Regions from separate parts of the Homo sapiens genome. Here region 1 is linked to region 2. Evidence: promoter capture Hi-C in human tissues and cell types (Jung and others, 2019). All regions are on one chromosome and are shown on one strand. Each heading gives the region's core, a stretch centred on a gene start or on the middle of the fragment in contact. The rest is flanking DNA. Distances are from core to core; before and after follow the strand shown.

Evidence for each region. The method cuts DNA at HindIII sites, captures the fragments that hold promoters and counts their contacts. A contact is called where the count stands out against the background at its distance.
Region 1: a fragment that was not itself captured here is called in contact with the fragment with the promoter of PDCL in region 2 in 2 of the 25 tissues and cell types used here (adrenal gland and dorsolateral prefrontal cortex).

The regions. Positions count from the first base shown.
Region 1 is chr9:123,027,616-123,031,372 of GRCh38, forward strand. All of the region lies in intron 13 of RABGAP1 (RAB GTPase activating protein 1), which reads left to right. It also overlaps the pseudogene RPS25P8. Among named protein-coding and RNA genes, the nearest start is that of GPR21, 4.2 kb to the right of the region's middle. The HindIII fragment of the contact is 5,092 bases long and covers 1-3,757 here.
Region 2 is chr9:122,826,799-122,830,587 of GRCh38, forward strand. PDCL (phosducin like) reads right to left here and starts at 1,790. Exons shown (of 4, transcript NM_005388.5): 1 at 1,673-1,790. RefSeq lists an enhancer at 1,692-1,986. The HindIII fragment of the contact is 7,303 bases long and covers 1-3,789 here.

The DNA.
Region 1 (3,757 bases), core at 517-3,016, 200 kb after region 2:
TAAAAGGAGATCGATTTAGCAAAAAAGAATGTTGGCCATGGAGGAGGAAGCCTGGGTACTAGTTTCAGTTCTGCCGCTTCATTTCCTCTTCTCTGAACTGAGGTAGCTGAGGTAGTCTGTTGATTTTTCCTTAAGCTTTGACATTCTGGAAAATCAGACAGTGTGTTTGAGTCCTGCCCTCCAAAATAGGCCATAATTCCATTTTTTCACAACTGAGCACTCTTGCTGCCTTGTCCTACATGAAAATAGTGGCTGGTGGATGTTAGAACTGTATTGTCTGCTGTCATACAGCAATTGCTACAGTAGGTCCCTCTAAATTATTACTTGTGAACATAATTTTAAGCCCTATATCTTATCCCTGTGAAGTTATTTTCCTTTGTGTGAGTTTATGTAAGTCATACTTGCTGGGAGTTCTAAAGGTTTCCTGAATTATAAGACTGGAAACATATTTGGTTTGTCCATGTTAAAATTGCTATTTGACAGTTTTTGACCCACAAATAGGCAATTTCATATGCCTCGACCTAATAATTATAGGTGAGTTAAACAGTTACCATGCTGGGGTTTTACTTGAAAGATCTTTCAACTTAGAAGCAGAATTGCCTTTTGTTTCATTGGACATTCATTGTTTATTCAATAAAAAATACCTTTTGAATGCCTACCCTGTGCCAACCCTGTGGTAGGCCTCATGGATATGCCCATAAATAAAATAAACTTGTTCACTGGTTTCAGGAAGTCTGCAGTCTAATGAAGGAAATAGACAGTTAACTATAAACAATCATAAAGTTGCATGGGAGTTGTAGAAGAAAAAATATATACTGCTGTACTGCATATGACATGAAGGATTTCTCACCTAAGTGTTCTAAAAGGTCTCTTGCTCAGAAATTAGCCAGGGGTTGGATAGTTGGGGTGGGATAGGGTGCTGCATAACAGATGTGGTCTTAAAAGTCAGAGAGAACAGCGTGTACTCAAGGCAGTTCCATAGAGTGTGAATGGAGGTAAGACCAGAGAGGTGGTAGATAGGGAACAGATCTTTGAAAGCTTCAGAAGGCATATTTAAGGTTTTGGGCAACAGAAGCGAATGAAGCATTTTAAGCAGGCAGGTTATATATTCCGGTTTATAAGGCAGTATGCAAAGTGGTTTCCATCTAAAGGCAAATTGTCTTAATTCAGATCCTAGTTCTGCTGTATTCTAGCCATTGAAATTGGGCAATTTAACATTCATACGCTTTGGTTTCCTTATCTGTAAAATGGAATAATAATAGTTGTAGAGTTGTTAGAATTAATGTGTGAAAATTCTTAGTATAATCCATAGTCCATACTAAGTGTAAATAACTTAATATTATATATATTTTTTGCTTATTATCTGTATTATCAGGCTTAGAAAGATCACTCTGTTACTTGGGCTAGCATGGAGTAAGAATAATTGCAGCGAGACCCGTTAATAATTCAGGCAAGAGATAATTTCAACTTGGATTGGGGTGTAGTGGCAAAGGGATGGGGAAAAAGATGCTATTTAAGAGGATTTCAGAGGTAGAGTCCTTGGCACTCACTTGATGACTGAATGAATGTGGGAGATGAGGGCGAGGGAGGAATAAAAGATGAGTCAAAGTATCTCAAATCATTTTTGGAATGACAGTTACATAAATAAACTCACATCAGCTGCACTAAAATAATATGTTAATTAATCAATGTTTAAAGCTCATTTTTTTTTTTTACTTAATAAAGTTTTATTTTTCCAAATGTAGAGTTGCTTGGACCTGTTCATGCATCTTCACCAGCAGCTGGAGCATCTCTGCCCTTGGTATTTCTGGTGTAAATTACTTGAGCTCTGTGCTTTGAAACCAGTTTGATAAGTCCTTTACTAAGGAGCTCCAGAAGGGCTGCCCTGGCCAGGGAACCTCAAATCTTCAGTCTCTTAGAGACCACAACTGGAGTTATAAGTTTATAGTTGGGAACTTCCTTACAGAGTTTGTCATATGTAGCTTTGTCAAACAAGACAAGGTATTGAGCTTGTCCCTAACTTTGCCTTTGGACCATTTCTTCTTTTTGGCCTTGCCCCCGGGTTTGTTCACTGGGTCTTTGTCTTTCTTGGCTGACTTTCCAGTGTCTGTCTTCTTCTTGTAGTCCTTGGGTGGCATCGTGAAGCTCGGAGAGCAGTGGCGAACACTGCAGCCTTGCTAAGATGTCAGACAAAAAGTGAAGCTCATTTTTACCAAATAATAAGTGGTAGTTGACACTAATGCCCAGAGGTGAAGCTTAGGAATTTGAAGAACTGAGATAATTTATCATCTACAAGTAGTTAAGTCTCTGAATAGGTTGGGAGAAAAAGAAATATAATTTGAACAGGTCTTTTCCTTTTTTTGTTACATTTCATTTCTCGTTCTGCTTTTCTTTTTAAGCCTGTCATTTTGTTATTTTAATTATTTTGGCTTTTAAAGTTGTTTTAATTTCATTAGGTTGAACCATATAGAAATTGGCGTGTTTGCAGGTCAGAAAGTATTTAGCTAGCAATGAAATGGTTAAGTATCGGTAAGTTCGTAATTATATTCTTGTTCTGTAAGAGGTTTTAACTGACATTTTGGGAGTCCATTTTGAGTTAGATTGAGTACCAAAGACTGTCTGAAGGAATGTTGCTCTGATGGCATAAGAACAAGTGGAACAGAGCCCCATGAAGTAGACAACTTCAACCCAGCATCATTCTATCTTGCTAAATCAATATGGTTCTGAGAGTATATAGAAATTGGAAAATTCAGAAAATATAGAAAGCTATAAAGAAGAAAGATTTTTTAATGAATGTTATCCCACCATCCAATAATAGTGTTGATTTTTAATGTATTTCCTTTTAGTCATATATATATAGAAAGTTACTCAGCCTTCAAAGTAAATATAGAGAGAATATATCATGAGACTGCATTATTTTATTTTTTATTGTATTTTTTAATCAGCATATAACATACATACTTATGAGGTATATAAGGATGTTTTGATACATATAGTATATACTGATCAGATCATGGTAATTGTGCACATACCCATCATCTCTAACATTTATCAACATTTATCATTTCTCTGTGTTGGGAACATTCAGTAACCTCCTTCTAGCTATTTGAAACTACATAGTATTAACTATAGTCTTCCTAGAGTGGTATGGAACACTAGAATGAGTCTATGTTATGGTTAAAGACCAAATGTACATGTGGATTTCTGTAAGGATACAAATTTATAGAGCCTCCCCAAGTTGTTAATAAATTGTGTCTTTTGAAGAAAATGTTTTTCTTTAATCCAAAGCAAAACATTTAATTCCTGATTGATTCAGTTAAATGTGGCTATTAGTCTTTTTTTTTTAAAGTTTCTTAAATGAATATTTTGATTTTAGCTCCTAGAGTGGTTTCACTAAAATAGAAACAAAGTTGAAAGAACTGTTACTGTACTAATGGCAGTAATGTAACAGCTTGTAGTTTTGTTGCAATTTTATAAATTTTGAATTCTTTCAAATTTTCAGCCATTGTATTGTCTGTTTTTATCAGCGTAACTGTCTTGTTTTATACATGGGAAACCACAGAGAGAATAAGTTTCATGCCCAAATTCACAAGTAGTAGTAGAAAAGCCTAGACTTTTGACTTTGGTGAACACTTTTTCTGTTTATTGAAATACAGCAGTAACTCTCAAAAATCACTCCTTTATTCCGTATTTATTAAGGTGCTCAGTAAATATGGTTTAAAAATAAAGTCTATGGCAAGTGTATAGAAGTAATCTG
Region 2 (3,789 bases), core at 540-3,039:
AAAGAAAGCATATCAGGTTCTTTGCTGATTTGAGCCAGACAGACATGAATCTGAAGCATAGGGGGCTCGCCTGTGCTGAGATCCTACAATTTCCAGGACACTAAAGTGATTATTTTCATAACCAAAATCTTAACAAATCCCTACCGTTACCCTGTGTGTTAGGGCTTATCACACTCTTTAACAGAAGGTAAAACTGAAGCTCAGATAAAGGAAGAGTCTTCACCAAGCTTAACAGCGAATGACGGAGCTGGGACCAGACCCCAGGGATTCCTGACTCCAAGAGCCTGAGGTATAAATTACTCTAGTCTGAGTTAAGTGTACAAGCCACCTGCACTGGCTTGGAGGAATCTACTGACTAGTGGTTTTATCTGTGCTTTTAGTTTTCCCACCAGCTAAGACTGCTGCCTAATTGAAAAATTGTTTAAGTATCCTCAGGAAAAACCCCAAAAAGAGGCATCAAGAGTACAATGCTGAGTCACTATTTGTCTAGGCAATCACTCTCTGTCACCAGCCTTCAACTTCCCAGACAACACCCTGAGGGCTTGGATGGATGGTCTCTGAAACGCTACCTATTCTGACAGTTTAAAAGAAGGGCCCATACAAAGATTTTAATAACTCCCAAGGGTTTAAAGGACTATGATGGCCGGGCTCGCGCAGGTAATCCCAGCACTTAGGGAGGCCGAGGAGGGAGGATCACTTGAGACCAGGTATTCGAGACCAGCCTGGCTAACATGGCGAAACTCTTGTCTCTACTAGTAAAAGCAAACAAACAAACAAACAAAAATTAGCCAGGTGTGGTGGCGGGTGTCTGTTTTCCCAGCTACTCAGGAGGCTGAGGCACGAGAATCTCTTGAATCCGGGAGGCGGAGGTTGCAGTGAGCCAAGATCACGCCACTGCACTCCAGCCTGGGAGACAGAGCGAGACTCTGTTTCAAAAAAAAATAAAAACTAAAAATATAAAGGACCAGGCTTCTGCATCAGAAGTAGCCAAGGGCATTCTGATGAAAAGATGCAGCTTAGCCCCCAGAGGCCTGCTTGAGAATTCAGCAGGAATGCGGCTGCCTTAAAGACTTATCACCGGGCCTATCATACTCCATTTACAAAGTGACTCTCTCCCACCGGGCAAGGAGTTCTTGAACGTAGGGACCTCTAGTCACTACCTCTATCCCCAAAGCCCAGCACAATGCCGCTGCACAATTTGCTAAACTCGCAGCCTGGGTCAACGGGAGAATCGGAGGACTCCAGCAGTCAGATGCAAAGGAGACAGGGATCATGGAGAGACAGGTGGAGGTGCCAAGAAGGAACAAAACCAAACTTAAGGCCCAGGAATGGGCCAAGCGGGGGACACAGCAGCGGCGGAGGGGAGGGAAGGAGTTGCGCTCCTAAAGGAGGGACCGCTGCGGGGAGGAGACGAGGGCGGGCCCCCTGGAGACGCGAGCAGAGGAGGCGGGGCCCCCGGACGGGAAGCAGAGGGGTGTGTGGAGCTTTTGGGGGAAGGCTGGAAGGGCCCGGGGGAGGTGGGGCCAGAGGAGGAAAGGGGACGAGGAAGACGCGGAGAACTTGGGGGTCGAGACAGAGCGAAGAAGGGGCAGTTTTACCCAAGCTCGCCAACCCCACTCCCTCCCGTAGTCCGCAGCTGCTGCCGCTTCCCGGTGGACCCCAATGCAGTTACCTGCCCTAGCTCGCTCCGGATCCCTTTGGGCCAGCAGCTCCGGGCGCCGGAAGGAATGGAGCACTTTCTTAAGAGGAAGAGCAGTGGGTCAGCGCCCTGAGCGCTAAAGAGAAAAGCCGCCGAAGCCCGACAGCGCGGACCAATGAGGCGGCCTTCCTGCGTCGTGGCGGACGCGCATTGTCCAATCAGAAGCCGCTACTCCCAGCTGAGGGGCAGGGGAGAAGCTACGGGTCCTACCTTGGAACAAAACACCTCGACAACAACGCTCTCCTAATTGCTTTGTTTTGGTTTTAATCTGCACAACAAAAAAGTGAATTGTATGACCCAGCGTCAAGCAATAAGAAAAATGTATTCACAGGCCGGGCGCGGTGGCTCACGCCTGTAATGCCAGCACTTTAGGAGGCCGAGGCGGGCGGATCACTTAAGGTCATGAGTTCAAGACCAGCCTGGCCAACACGTTGAAAACCCGTCTCTACTAAAAATACAGAAATTAGCCGGGCCTGGTGGCCGACGCCTGTAATCCAAGCTACTCGGGAGGCTGAGGCAGGAGAATCGCTTAAACCCAGGAGGCAGAAGTTGAAGTGGGCCGAGATCGCGCCACTGCACCCCAGCCTGGGCGACAGAGCGAGACTGTCTCAAAAAAAAAGAAAGAAAGAAAAGAAAAATGTATTCACTTCCCTTCGAAGTTTCCGAAGCCATTCAAAGTGTGTTTTTTATTGGTTCTTCATCGCATCACGTCTATTAGACGGAAAAGTGACTCAGAGACGTTCGGTAATTTGCCCGAGAGCACAAATCCCTCAAGTACAGGGCATAGATTAAAATATATATATATATTTTTTTGACGGAGTTTCGCTCTTCTTGCCCAGGCTGGAGTGCAGTGACGCGATCTCGGCTCACTGCAACCTCCGCCTCCCGGGTTCAAGAGATTCTCCTGCCTCAGCCTCCAGAGTAGCTGGGATTACAGGCGTCCGCCAGCAGACCCGGCTAATTTTTTCTATTTTTAGTAGAGACGGGGTTTCACCATTTTAAAGAAGCGGCAGCCAGGAGTGGTGGCGCGCGCCTGTAGTCCCAGCTACGCAGGAGGCTGAGGCGGGAGGATCGCTCAGCCCAGGACTTGGAGGCCAGCCTGGGTGACAGAGCAGGAATGTAATGTGAAATCCGGAATTGGCTCCTGGTATAGAAAAAGGACATGGGGCCGGGTGCGGTGGTTCACTCCTGTAATCCCAGCACTTTGGGAGGCCGAGGCGGGCAGATCACCTGAGGTCAGGAGTTCGAGACCAGCCTGGCCAACATGGCGAAACCCCGTCTTTACTAAAAATACAAAAATTAGCCGGGCATGGTGGTGCACACTTGTAATCCCAGCTACTCGGAGGCTGAGGCAGGAGAATCGCTTGAACCCGGGAGGCGGAGGTTGCAGACAGCTGAGATCGCACCACTGCACTCCAGCTTGGGGGTCAAGACTGAGACTCCGTCTCAAAAAAGAAAAATAAAAAGGACATGAATGGGACAACTGACGAAATTTGAATAAGGCCTATTAATTCATATTAGTAGTATTGTATCAATAGTTTTAATAATTATACTATGTAAGATGTGAACTTTTGGAGATTCTATTAGATGAAGAATCTAGGGAAGCACTATCCTATTTTTGCAACTTTGTTTTCTTCTTCCAGGGTAAAGCCATACTATGATATTTTGCAACTTTTTTTTCTTTTTCCTCAGGCATACTTTGTCGTCTGTTTTTGCAACTTTTTTAAAACCTAAAATGATTTCAAATTCTGAGCCCTTGTTGAAGTATCCAATACACAACCGTGAAGTTGCTCATAGAAAGCTTTGGGTAAATTGAATCATAGAAAATATTCTAGAAAGATACACTGTTTAAAATAGGGCTCTTAATTTGGGGTAGGGGATCTTAATTTGTGGTTCTAGGACCACCTGAAATTGTCTGCAAATTTCTGTACCTGCCTGTTTTCAGAGAGGCTGTTTGCTGAGGCCCTCAGAGGAGTCAAAAAATACCACACACAAACACACACCCATTCAAGAATACTGTATTAATAAGTCCGTTTTCATACTGCTGTAAATAAATAACCCAGTGTCAGGCAGTTCATACTGCTATAAAG